2 separate regions of the Homo sapiens genome follow, and region 1 is linked to region 2. The links are contacts of gene promoters, found by promoter capture Hi-C in blood cells and fetal thymus (Javierre and others, 2016). All regions are on one chromosome and are shown on one strand. The core of a region is centred on a gene start or on the middle of the fragment in contact, and the rest is flanking DNA. Distances in the headings are between cores, read along the strand shown.

Evidence for each region. Contacts are between HindIII fragments. The CHiCAGO score rates a contact against its expected background, and 5 or more counts as called.
Region 1: a contact is called between a fragment that was not itself captured here and the fragment with the promoter of CCN1 in region 2, in 1 of 17 cell types (activated CD4 T cells). The highest score is 6.5, in activated CD4 T cells.

Annotation. Positions count from the first base shown.
Region 1 is chr1:83,954,199-83,961,446 of GRCh38, reverse strand. All of the region lies in intron 1 of TTLL7 (tubulin tyrosine ligase like 7), which reads left to right. Among named protein-coding and RNA genes, the nearest start is that of TTLL7-IT1, 26 kb to the left of the region's middle. The HindIII fragment of the contact is 3,276 bases long and covers 3,032-6,307 here.
Region 2 is chr1:85,577,282-85,584,149 of GRCh38, reverse strand. CCN1 (cellular communication network factor 1) reads right to left here and starts at 3,389. Exons shown (of 5, transcript NM_001554.5): 1 at 3,103-3,389; 2 at 2,572-2,785; 3 at 1,866-2,222; 4 at 1,526-1,734; 5 at 200-1,410. The coding sequence starts at 3,165. The coding sequence ends at 1,108. It also overlaps a transcript of DDAH1 not described here. RefSeq lists enhancers at 1,731-2,252, 3,519-3,568, 3,299-3,821, 6,221-6,280 and silencers at 2,669-2,718, 2,729-2,778, 2,789-2,848, 3,279-3,408, 6,761-6,868. The HindIII fragment of the contact is 3,344 bases long and covers 725-4,068 here.

The DNA of each region.
Region 1 (7,248 bases), core at 3,420-5,919, 1.6 Mb after region 2:
AGGCCACAGAGTTTTGTAGACATTTGTGTGGTTGCTCTAATTACACATACTATACATTTGCCTTTTTCCATATGGCTTTTCCCAACTTTGCATAATTCTTGGACCATGGCTTAATTTTTATGGGATTAAATTTAATTTAGAGGGATTTGAAAATTGTGACAAATTTGTTTGATTCTAGAAATTAGCACAGTTGAAATTTTTTTATTTTAAATTCAAAAAAACCTTCCAGAGAACTATATTTCCCTGATATGGTAGCTCAGCAGTTTAACTCCTATGTTCCAGGCTCTGGGAATAGGCTACAGCCAATTGGAACAATAAATAAGTATTAAGTGCATTAGTGGGAGTTACTGTTGCTCAAGGTCAAGATTGTTACTAGAATGAATAAATAGTTCTTGTGTTTATTCTTACATAATATCATACTTGGCTGTTATCAGGTTTTTAGAAGTAGTTGATCAAATGGTTCTTTCAGGTCTAGAACACAGGACAGATCCAGCTTTGGGTAATGGGCCCAGCCAGGGAAAGGGAGACAAAAGTTACTATGTTCAAGGAGTAAGTAGCTTCTCTAAATACCCTTTCAATTTGTACACACAATGAGTGGTGGCAATGTTTTATTGTTATGAGAGTTGTTTGGGTGATGTCATTTGTATACCAGTCATGCAGCTGTGCATTTTGAAACCTATTGTCCTTTCTTGGCAGAAAGGACAGAAATAGGAGCAGTTATGCTTTGGAAGGGACCTTTGTGTTTAATTAACACCATTTTACCTATAAAAGTAGAGGATTCCCTTATCTCTTATCTCCACTAATTCTATTGTCTTATTTTCTGTTTATTTTCATCCACCCTTATTGCAAATACAAAGCTGAAATAATCTCACCCCTCAAACTGGCTCTTCTGTCTGCAAGCCTTCTCTTGATGAATTGTGCCATCTTCTACCCAATTCTTTAAGCTAGAAATCTGCAAAATCATCCAGGATTACATTTTCCTTATCAGTCACCAAGTCCTGCTGCTATTCTGCTAATACTGCAATAGCAGAATTCTGTCTCCTTATGTCTGTTGCTTTTATCTGTAATCAAGCTCTTATCTTCTCTCTCTTGGACTTTTGTAATATCCTCTTAAGATTGTCTCCACTACTGCCCCCACAATAACTGCCAGTGTAATCTATCAAAAATAAATCTGGATTATATTACTCCTCTTAGAGTCCTTCAGTGACTTCACATTGCTTATGAGTCAGGATCAGACCTAAGTTTCAGCAGTATGATTTATATCACAATACTTACAAAAAGACACATAATGATTCAAGCAAAAGTATTGTGGTTATTTCATTTCTACCTCTTATTTCAAATGCCTAAACCATGATAATTGCGTATTTATTCTTTATATTAAGAATTACATTCTTTGCATAAGAACACAGGTGCTCACTCTCTGTAGAACTGCCTATTGCATCATCCTTCCTCTCAAGGGGTATCAGACTTGGTGTTTATCATTCCTATGTATTTCTTTATATGCTTATTTCATAATTTATAAGAAATATATTATTTTGTATAATTTTAAACTTTATGTAAATAATATACTGTATGTATTCATCAGCTGTTTTAAATCTTCATTTTGTGATGCAGCATGTATCACTGATGTATAGTATTTTCATTGTATGAGTGTATTGCAGTGTCTTCACTCCCTTGTTGGTGTTGATTTGCATTCCTCCTTTCCCTTCCCTCTACAATTTTTTTACTATCCATAGAGGTTGTATTATTAATCTTTGTGGTTGTTGTTAATCCTTATAAGTTTAATTATTTTTGGTGGATTTCTTTTCTACAAAATGAGTGTGTTGGTTAGTGAGCATCGGTAGCTGGTTTGGGGTCAAACAAGGGGGGTAAACTGTCTAGATTAGCAAACTTCATCCCACTTACCAGAGCTGTTGGCAGTAGCAAGTGAGATCTTTTGTAGCAAACTTCTTCTTTTCCAGATGCTTTCCAAAGCAGATTATGAAAAAAAAGTGAGAGTCCTGCTGGGCAAATGCTTTCTCCTCCAGTCATTACTTGGCCAGGTGATTTCTAAGTCACCCACATTGCTGTGCTTCAAAAGACCAATAGGAGGGAATAGACTCCAGCAGTGGTGTTCTCCCACTTTCCTGGATCTGCCCTGGCCACCAGCTGTTGGCCTTCTAGTGCAGTGGTTCTCAGAGCTTTAGCCTGCATCAGATTCACTTGGAGGACTTGTTAATTGATGGGCCTCACCTCTATATTTCTGATTCAGAAGTTCTGGGGTTGGGCCTGAGAATATGCATTTCTAAGAAGTTTGCAGATGATACTGATGCTCAAGTTCAGCATTTCCAAACCTATTTTATTTTTTGACTCATGGAACTCTTTAGACATTAATATATAATTTCACAATCACCTACATGAATTTTTCAATCATGTTATAATTTCCTAAGTTTTACATGTTTTAAAGAAGGGCTTTAAGTTCAAAAATTTGTATCTGCATAATGATAAACATTGTGGTCATCCAGAGCCTTGCTACTCAAAGTGTGGTCTGTGAACCAGCATACCTAGGAGCTTGTCAGAAATGCAGACTCTCAGGCTCTACCTCAGACCTAATGAGTCAGAATCTGAACTTGAACAGTAGTCCCAGGTGTGCACATTACAATTTAAGAAACACTAATGTAGAACTGACATTAAATCCAATCTGAATAATATTCAAAACAAATAAGCATTTTAAATTTTGATGTTTAAAAGTGGCATGTTTCATTTACTTTTATTCTCTTTCATATGAGAAAAAGCATGATTTCATATAAGAGAAAGCATATATCAAATTTGGTTTGGGAACCAAGTGCTGAAATTTAATGAAATTAATAATACAAAAATGGACAAAATTTCATTCATGACCTGATATTTGGAAATACTACTTTTTGCATATACAACTGCCTTATTTTTATAATTTTTAGGAAGTAATAGATTTCTGACTGTTAATTGTAATGACCTCTCTGCAAATAATGTTAATGTGTGTGGAGAGTGTTTTTGCCTCAAAGTAAAAGCTTACTTGGATATATTTTTTGTTACATTTGTTATTTTTCTCTTTTTTTTGGAAGTGATAGTAGAAATGTCTTTCATCCGATAATTACAATTTAGGGATCTGGAGAAGATTATCTTGAGACATATTTGCAAAATTGTTACTTTAAAATTTTCTTATAACTTGTTTTTCAATATCATTGTTCATTATATCTCTTTTCTTTAAACGATTATCAATGAGGATAATAATCTATCTTTTAGGGTTTTGAAGGTCAGAGTTTTATATGTATAAACCTCAAAAAGTGCCTGGCACATAGGATGTTTTACATAAGTGATGATATCAACCCCATCCTTCTCTTCCTCTTTGTTGTCTTCTTGCTCTTCCTCATTATCATTGTTACAATCCATAGCAAGCTCAGGATAGAGTTTAATTATCTACTCTGTGAAGCCAGGGGCAGACTGGACTCAATGTCTTAGTCTGCTCAGGCTGCTATAATAAAGTATAATAGACTAGGTAGCTTAAACAATAGATATTTATTTCTCACAGTTCTGGAGGCTGGGAAGTCTAAGATAAAAAAGGCTCAAGACAATTAGGTTCCTGGTGAGGGCTATCTTCCTGGCTTTCAGAGGACTGCCTTCTCACTATGTCCTTGGGCTCCAGCTTTTAACGTAGATTCAGTCGAACAAAATCAAGCATCTTTGCGAAATCTTCAATATGTTATATTTAAAGGCTGAATTTTGAAGGTAGCACAAAAAGTGGGAAGGAATATGGGTTTCCTTCCCATACTTCTTCTAATAGGTAGAAGCCACAAACCACTTCAACCTATTAGATGTGTGACTTTGTGCAAGTTTCTTAACCTTGGAGCCTACATTTTCCCATATATAAAATGGGAATAAAAGGTACTGGGTATTTGTTGGGTGGACTAAATAAAGTTATGTGAAAGTAGATACTGGTTTGTACTGGTTCTTTTCTCCTTCCTCTTGTCACAACAAAACAGCTCTTATTATGTTTTTATTTAATATTATTTTACATATTTTTAACTTAACCCTATTTTTGGATCCTCTTGACTTTTTGTTTGATTATTTTAGTAATCTTTGGGTGAGCTAAAAATTAATGTACAAAGACCTCATATATTATGTTTACTGGGGTATGGATTGAGGGTTGCTGGAGAAGGTCTGAGTTTTCTTTGTGTTTCCTTCTTTTACATAAAAGAAGTTTGTCTTCATCTTTTGCCATAAAATATATCAGCAATGTTATCTTCATTGGTTGCCATTTTAGACTTTAGGGGTGGAAAGAATAAATCTTTTACTTTTGCAGCCTAAGAATTTATATCTGCTAAGTGGAAAATTAAAGGATAGGAATTTGATTTGACTCCTTGTTCAGTGCTCTTTCTACCATATTATACTTTCATTTAAATGAAATAAAGGTATTTTCACTTAAATGGAGAACACAGTTTGATGATTTTGGTTATCAACATGATTATATTGATACAAAATTTTATCACATATATTTTACTTTTTTGAACAGGTAATACATATACAGAGTACTAAAGGTAAGTACAAGTAAGTCTCCCTTAGCCCCACCCCTAGCCATAGCAGGCCACAACTGCTCAGTGGATATGTTCCATATATTCCTCTGTTGGTTTGCTCAAGTGGCAGTGTAATATGTAAACTTCTATGTACTTTGCTTTTTCCACTTAAAAATGTGGGTTAGGGCTGGGCACAGTGGCTCACGCCTGCAATCGCAGCACTTTGGGAGGCCGAGGTAGGCGGATCACCTGAGGTCGGGAGTTCGAGACCAGCCTGACCAACATGGAGAAACCTCGTCTCTACTAAAAATACAAAACAATTAGCCAGGTGTGGTGGCGCATGCCTGTAATCCCAGCTACTTGGGAGGCTGAGGCAGGCGAATCACTTGAACCCGGGAGGCGGAGGTTGCAGTGAGCCAAGATTGTGCCATTGCACTCCAGCCTGGGCAGTAAGAGCAAAACTTCGTGTCAAAAAAAAAAAAAAAAAGTGGGCTAGGTGCAGTAGCTCATGCCTGTAATCTCAGCACTTTGGAAGGCTGAGGCGAAAGGATAACTTGAGGCTAGGAGTTTGAGACCAGCCTGGTCAACATAGTGAGACCCCATCTCTAAAATAATAAATAAATAAATACATAAATAAATAAATAAAAATAATAATAAAAGCCTGTTGTGGTGGTGTACACCTGTAGTCCCAGCTACTTGGGAGGTTGAAGCAGGAGGATTGTGGAGCCCAAGAGTTCAAGATTACGGTGAGCTATGATTGTCTCTAAAAAACAATATAAATGAATAAAACAAAATACATAAATAAAATTTTTTTAAAGTGAAAAGTAATATATTGTAAATTACATGTATTTGCTTCTCAGAGCTTGATGACTATTTCTCTTTTCTCTCAGCTCTCATGAATTGATTGGTTGTTTGTTTTTTAAGACACGCTCTGCTGCCAGGCTGTAGTGCAGTGGCATGAACACAGCTCACTGCAGCCTTGACCTCCCTAGCTCAAGCTATCATTCCTTCTTAGCCACCCAGGTATCTGGGACTACAGGCAGGCACCACCATGCCTGGCTAATTTTTAAATTTTTGTGGAGATGTTGCTCAGGCTGGTCTCAAACTCCTGGTCTCAAGTGATCCTCCTGCCTAGGCCTCCCAAAGTATTGGGATTATTTATAGGCATGAGCCATGGTGCCTGGCTAATTAACCGATTTATTAACTCAGTGTCTTAGCCCGTGTGTGCTGCTATAACAAAACGCCACAAATTGGATAACTTATAAACAATAGAAATTTATTTCTCAAATTTCTGAAGGCTGGGAAGTCCACATCAAGGTGGTGGCAGGTTTATTGACGGTGAGGGCTGCTGTTTCTGCTTTTAAGATGGTACTTTGTTGCTGCACCTTCTGAAGGAGATGGATGCTGTGTTCTCATGGTGGAAGGGATGGAAAGGTTGTGTGAAGCCTTGATTATAAAGTCCTTCCCATTCATGAGGAAGGAGCCCTCAGGACCCAATCACCTTCTAAAGGTCCTACCTCATCATACTGTTTCATTGGGGACTATGTTTCAACATGAATTTTGGAGGGACACAAATATTCAAACCATAGCACACATTAACAAGTGCTTATTGAACACTATGGTCAGGCACTATTCTAGGACCTGGGAATGGAGGAGTGAACAAGATAGAAGAAAACCATCTTTTTGGCAGGTGATTATGATAAGGGTAAAAATAAGGCCTGTGATAGCCCAAAAGAGGGAGAAATGAATTTCTTCAGATATAATCAGAGAAAGCTTTCAGGAAAAAGTGGTATTTTATGTGGAATTTAAGTGTGGTAGAAGCTCAACGGAAGAATAGGGAAGAAATGGTACTCTAGCACAAATGTACTGGAATTATTTTGGTTTTGTTTCAATTTCGTGTATCTATTGGTGCTTGACAGTTCTATGTTCAAGGTTAACATTTGCTTGAAATTTTGGAAAATTGATTCCTTTTGTAAATAAATTCTGTTTCTTTATCTTAAAAATCATTTTGTGCTCACCGTCAAATTTTTTTCTGGTTTTTTTTTTTTTTGAACTAGATAGGAAAACAGGATTTTTGTGGGTAATTTTTACCTATTTGGTCTTTTTAAAAAAGTTATGAGTTTTCTTTTACTTTTTTTCTTATAATTTCATGTGTTGTTATAATTAGCTATTATTTGTTGCATTGTCATCGTGTGCTTACAGTAGAGGTTCTCAACCTTAGCTGCACTGGAATCACATGAAGAGCTTTAGAAATGCTGATGGTTGGGCCCCACTTAGTTCTGGGGTGTGGCCTGGACAGCAGGATTTTCAAAAGCTCCTCATTCAGGCAATTCTGCTTTGCAGCCAAGGTTGAGAAGCCATTGGCTTAAAGCATTTCAGAGGTAACTGAAACATGTTTTCTGCTTTTGGAAAGTAGGTAACTATGGTTTCAAATGAGTGGTGGGATAAATCCGTCATCTCAAATCTCTTGCTTAGAATAAAGCTGATTAGAATTGCCATGGTTGAATGAAGTCCTTGAGTTTGTTAAAGCACTTTGACTAAGGCATAAATGGAATTAAGTAAAGCGCATATATGCATAGTATAATTTTAAGAACTTTAAATTCCTGTATGCCTTGGGGAAGGGATAAAAGTTCTTGTTTTGAACTCTGTACAAATCAGCCATTTGACTTATTATTTAAGTCAAAAACTAACAAATTTGTTTTTAGAATCTAGTATA
Region 2 (6,868 bases), core at 2,140-4,639:
TGCCCATGGGTCTGGATGTGGGCAGCCTGAGTTATGGACTACCCCTTTTCATTAAAGGGTTTCTCTACTCTACTAAAGTGGCATGCCCACTAACCTGGTGATTAAAATAATAAATTATTATAGCCATCTCACAGAGTGATGGAGACCCTTAGGCTTTATATTCTGATGAACATGAAGCGCTGTTTTCTTAAATCACAAATTTAGCTTCAGAATCTTTATTGTGCTTCATACAATGTCGTGTTCAATACATGTTTTTTAAACATTACTTTATATGCAAAGACTTTTCTCTACTGAAGGTATAAAAGCAATCATTATCTTATTTTAATAGCTTAATTCACTGCTGTATCCCAATAAGTCCTGTTTGAATAATTGAGTACGTGAGCTAGGTTGTTCCTAATGACTTTGGAGCACCTCTAAAAATACCGAATGGCATACACTCAGATATTAGGTAAATATTTCTTTATTAAATGGTTAATTCCATAAATAAAATCTTTTCACTGAATATAAAATTAAAATCATTTACAAATTATTCCAGTATTACATTTCCCCTCCCTCCCCAAAAGCTACATTTTGATAAATAAAACATTCAGTCTTAAAACACCTGATTTCTGTTTGCAGTTTAGAGTGCAGATAGCTGCCTCTCACAGACACTCATGGAGTGTCCCCCTTCAGGAAGGGATGGAATGCCCTCCCATTTACTTTTGTCAAAGGACGAATAAAAGCTTTAAACTGTCCAACTAATCTTATTATCTCTTTTACGACTGTAGAACCCCAAAAGGAAAAAAGCCTAGAGAAAATATGCTTAGCAAATAATTTACAAACAGAAAACAGAAAGTCATCAACTCCACAAGCTCCAAAATGAAGCAGTAACATGTGCTCCAATACTATGAAGCAAAGTATTCTCCAATCGTGGCTGCATTAGTGTCCATCCGCACCAGCACCCTTGGCAGTTTCGAAATACCTTAATGCTCCTCAAGAATGAGCAAGGCTTCCTTTCTACAATGAGTCCCATCACCCACACCACCCCCGCCCATTTTCTCCATGATTCTGATTCTGACACTCTTCTCCCTTGTTTGTCTAGGTGTGCCCTGGAAACCCAGGTAGCATTTAGTCCCTAAATTTGTGAATGTCATTGAACAGCCTGTAGAAGGGAAACGCTGCTTCATTGGCATGCGGGCAGTTGTAGTTGCATTTGCAGGACTGGATCATCATGACGTTCTTGGAAAATGTCTCCCCATCTTCGCAGCGGAACCGCATCTTCACAGTCCTGGTCAGCTGGGGCGTGCAGCATCGGCCGTCCACGCAGGAACCGCAGTACTTGGGCCGGTATTTCTTCACACTCAAACATCCAGCGTAAGTAAACCTGACTGGTTCGGGGGATTTCTTGGTCTTGCTGCATTTCTTGCCCTTCTGTAAGAGAAAGGAGAGAAGGAAAGTTAGGGGTGATATTTCTCTTTCTTCAAAAAGATGTTCACATCCCACCCACCTGCCAGGCAACAGTCTACACGTCCCTGAAGGAACTTACTTTCAGGCTGCTGTACACTGGCTGTCCACAAGGCCGCACCTCACAAATCCGGGTTTCTTTCACAAGGCGGCACTCAGGGTTGTCATTGGTAACTCGTGTGGAGATACCAGTTCCACAGGTCTTTGAGCACTGGGACCATGAAGTTGTTTGAACAATACATTTCTGGCCTTGTAAAGGGTTGTATAGGATGCGAGGCTCCATTCCAAAAACTAGAGACATATAAGAGGGAAGACTTCTCAGAGGCATACCGACACAAACAGGCTCAAGCACTCATTTCTACAAAGATTTAGACCAGAAATGCATCTCAGTACAGTGTCTGAAGTGCTCAGTCTCCACTTACCAGGGAGCCGCTTCAGTGAGCTGCCTTTTCCAACTGCAATCAATTCATTGTTTCTCGTCAACTCCACCTCGGAGGCATCGAATCCCAGCTCCTTGCCAAGGAGGCCGTCCTGGTCCTCCATGGGGTCCTTGATACTATCCTCGTCACAGACCCACTCCTCGCAGCACTGCCCGGTAACTTTGACCAGCCGAGGGTTGGGACAGCCCAAGTTGGGGAGAGATAGTTCTTGGGGACACAGAGGAATGCAGCCCACGGCGCCATCAATACATGTGCACTGATGTTTACAGTTGGGCTGGAAACTTTCCCCGTTTTGGTAGATTCTGGAGTTATATTCACAGGGTCTGCCCTCTGACTGAGCTGCAAAGATCACCAAAAGAGAAAGGTAGAAGGGGATAAAGTTAAGATTCCAAACCACCGCCTGAAACTCATACATATTTTCTGCTGTTAAATTCAATTTATGGTAAAGTTCCCTACAATTCCCCGGAGACTCCAGACCAGAACAATAAGTTAGTCAGGAATCACTTTTCCGTATGCGCTTTCGTTGGGCCCAGACACACTGAATTGCATTCCAGACTGCTGAAATCATGTGCCTTTCTGCCAAGCTACCAACAACAAAGCATCACCATACATGGTCTCAGAATTACTAAACTTCTGGACTATGGGGACTAGTATTTTTTTTAAAGGGGCCAAACCACAAGCATCTTACCTCTGCAGATCCCCTTCAGAGCGGTGGAGCTGGCGCCGAAGTTGCATTCCAGCCCCTTGGTGTGGTCGCAGGGCTGCGTTTTGCTGCAGTCCTCGTTGAGCTGCTTGGCGCAGACCTTACAGCAGCCGCAGCCGTCCCGGACCAGCCCGACTCCCGGCGCGCACTTGGGCGCCTCCAGGGGGCAGTGGCAGGCAGCGGGGCAGGTGGAGAGCGCCTGGAAGGGGGAGAAGATACGCGTGAGACTCGGCGCGGTGCGCAGGAGGGGCGCCGCGGCTGCCGCAGTGAGGGACGGGGGTCTCCGACCCTATCGACGGGGAGCCTCTGATCTCGTCCAGCCCGGCCACCTCGGAAGGCTGCTCCCACCAAGAGGTCCCGACACGTCTTCGGGGGGAGGGGGAGAGTGCTTAAAGAAACGGCTACCCGCAAACGATCGCGAACTTTTTAACTTTTCCTGCCGTGGGCAATCTGGGACCAGGGGAAGGGGCTGGAGAGCGGACGGGGAATAGGTGGCAAAAGGAGAGTCCAACTCACCAGCCTGGTCAAGTGGAGAAGGGTGACGACTAAGGCGAGCGCCCTGGCGATGCGGGAGCTCATTGTGGCGCGCAGGAGTAGCCCGGGGCGAGCGCGGCGACGAAGACGCCAACAAGCTGGTGTGCAGCGGACAGGCCGTGCGCAGCGGGGTCGGGGTGGCGGCGCGGTGGGCCCGGTGGGCAGGGAGGCGAGGGCTGGGCGGCGGGCGGGCGTCTTTCGCTCGAGGTCCCGGCGGAGAAGGCGCGGAGGGCGCGGGCGCTGCTCGGGGGCGCTCTCGCTCGCGGTCTGCCCAGGCGCCCCGGAGCCCGCCTTTTATACGGGCCGGCGGAGGCGCCGCGTGTTGCAGTGACGTCGGCTCTGTCTGCGCGTTCCAGAATTCTCAAACATCTCAGGAATGCTGGTTGGCGCGGGCTGCTGCCAAGCGCCTCCCCTGGCTCCATTGCACCTTTGTGTGTGTGTGTGTGTGTGTGTGTGTGTGTGTGTGTGTGTGTGTGTGTGTGTGTCTGTGTGTGTGTCTGTCTCCCAGACCCGTCAAGAAAACAGTTCGGGGGGTGTGTGTGTGTGTGTGTGTGTGTGTGTGTGTGTCCCAGACCCGTCAAGAAAACAGTTCGTTTTTTCCACCTTAAATTACGACTTATGTTGGGAAGGGTTCTTTGGGGCGTGATGGTGGTGATGGTAGTTGGAGGGTCGTGAGGGGCGAGGGGGGCCAGTTCAGAACTTTGCCTGGACTGGGTGGGTGGGAGGACCTGAGAGGGAGGAACAAAAGTCGTTTTGTTTGGTGATGCGAGTTGACCGGGCAGCCACTGAAGCCCTCACCCGGGAAGGCAGTGAGCTGTTTGCTTTTTTACAGCGAAGGTGAGAGGCAAGTTATCTGTTGAAAGAGTAGAACGGGGAAGAGGAGTGTGTCTCTGAGTCAGGAATATTTGTGGACTTCAAAGAGGCGTGTTCGGAACAAGTCCCAAAGCTTTGGCATGATGTTTATTAGCAAAGTTCAGTGAATTGCAAATTAATACCCACAGTGGCATTTATGAATGAAAAGGCGGGGGGGGGGTGGGGCGGGGGGAAACTTGCCCATCGTCTGGCAAATTCCCAGGCAGAGGTCTCCCCCACTCCTCCAGCCCTTCCCTCTTTTGGGTATGTTGTACTTGTTTGTTTTTGGAGGTTCCCACTTTAGTTCCAGCCCACTGCCTGGGTTGGAAGTCCGAGAGGAAACGAACGCGGGGAGTTCTCCGGGAGGCTGACTTATACTTCCTCACGGATGCAGGAGACGGGGTAAGCCCTTCCCGCCTCCCTCCGCGGGCAGGAGGCTATGCTAACCAAGCAGCCAGCCAGAAGTGCAGGAGACCACCGTGGAGTGGCCTGAAATCATCACCTGCAAAGACCGCAAGGCCAAACCAGATTCCAGGACCATTGTGCCCTATGAATCTCTGGGAAAAGCAGACTCCTTCAAGCTGGACATTTTGTGGGGTTTTTAACTCCTTTCCTAGGGACCACTGGAAGCCTCCCATTTTAAATGAATTGCAATGCCCTTCTCTCCAAGTACAGAAAAGAGATTTAGGATGTAATATTTTGCAGTAAAAATGTCAGCAGATTTTAAGATCCCGTTCTACTTGCAACACACTCAGTAGAAGACCCCACCACAAGACAATTTACTTGAACATCACCAATACCATTAGTGTGATTGATAAACTTTCCCTGCAAGTTTCAAAAACTTTTTGCATAATTTTAATAAAAATTATCATGTAAGACTCATATGCTCTAGGATAACTACTTATCCTTTTTAATGTTTAAGGCTATTCAGACTTCATAATTTAGCAGTCTTGCTTGAAAAGGCCCTTAGTGCTAATGCTGACTTTCCTGATAAGCACAATGAGAATCTGTCAGGATGAAAACACACTCCAGTGAAGAGAATTCTTGCAGGAAGGAGTTCAGTTTCATTCATTCCAAAGTGCCCTTTCATAAATGGAAGCAGCATTTGCTAGAGGGAGTGGGATCTCTAAAGCTCTGTTAGAGGGTTAGGGGTGGGAGACTTTTCAAGACAATGGATTGTCAGGTGTTATGCAAATACAGTGAGGAAAGTGTGGGCCCAACACGTACACAGGTTAATACATCAATTATTATTTACAAAACACTGTTTTTCCTGCCTTATCATTTCATTATTGTTTCCTTCTTAATGAAGTGACGGGGGGCGGGAGGGGGGAGGAGGGGTGCAGGGACAGTACTGGTTGAACTAGAGAGAGAATGGAGAGGAGGGTTCCTGGCTTCTGTTGTGGCGTCTTTTCTATTTGACTTCATGGTTGTAAGTATTTCCAGATGGTGAATCAGACACCAGACGTAACAATATTTCCATATTTGGGTATAGCAGTAGCCTGCGTTTTTAACATTTTTCTGCCTCTGTTATCCAACCACAAAGCATTCTTGACAGCTTCAAATGTTGTTAAATATAGATTTAACTTCTCTTCCCAGAGCAGGAAATTCTTTGGAATTCCTTGTTTTTCACGCAATCTGTCCATCATGATTTAAAATAAAAGCACAGTGGATCATCCAACTGGCCGTATATACCTTAATTGGAGGTTGGGGATGGGGGACGGCAGAGATCCAGTCTGCCGCACTGCGTTCAAACACACGCCATTCCAGAGATTCCTTTAAAATCACATTAAAGTTTTTTTAACAAGGGTGTGTGGGTTTGTTTCTGGACTTCAACTGGGGAATCTTGAGGATGAGTTTGCCCCAGAAGAGAAATTTAGAGAACCTTACCGTCAGCTGCCCATTTAAAGCAGGGGGTGTGTTGTGGGATGGGGGTGGGAAGCTGGAGCAACAGGGCCAGGAGGTGTGGGAGCGGGAGACACTAGAGTAACCTATGTGCACAGCCTCTCCATATACCATGTGCTGTTGCGCCTGCTAGTAATCGACGACATTAGGCAAGAGAAACAGCGGCTCCTCAAGTCCTGCCCAAAGACCGTCCAGAAACCCCAGCCTCCCGTCGCCTTCTCGCCGCCTCCGCTGGGAGCCGCAGATCAGTCCAAGTTGACGGACAGGAGGCGAAATGTGCAAATGTTTATGGGTAAGTGTTGCTTCGGGTGCTAATTCTGTATGGCTCTTTTGCTAGTTTCTCCTTCACCCTCCCCATACGGGTGCCCCAGGAGGAAATAACGGACTGCCTTGTTTCCTTGGGCTGCCTTGGATTGCAATCCACGGAGAAGGGGCTACTTGTCTTCTGCAGCTCCTGGCTTCGGGCTGAGAGATGGGGACGTCTCTCAACCGCTGCTGCCAGGGAATTTTAGGTTACCTAATGAAGGGCTCACTGTCTGGCGGCAACCGAGAATAATAACGGTAAATCTGGCGACTCCAGTTTCCTAGCCCTAGGAAGGCTCTCAGACTAGCGTGCATCCGAGTCGCCTGGAGGGCTAGTTAATGAATGGTTCTCTGGGTTCCCACCCCAGAGTTTCTGATTAGTTACATTTCTAACAAGTCCCCAGGTGATGTTGATGCTGCTGGTCCGGAGATCACACCCTGAGCACCACTGCCCTGGACGACCGGAGTGCCTGTAGTAGGGGTGTGTGTGTGTGTCTTCATAGATCCTCGGCTGCACACCCAACCTCACAACTCCACTCTTCAAAGCCACCTTAATGAACAGAACTTAATGGTGTCTGCAAAAGACCGGCTTTAAGGTGGCGCCCCCGTACCATCCCATTTCTCTCCTCTACCATTTCCCCGCCCCCATCCCCTTGGCTTGACAGCCAGGAGAGCCCCAGGAAGCCAGGAT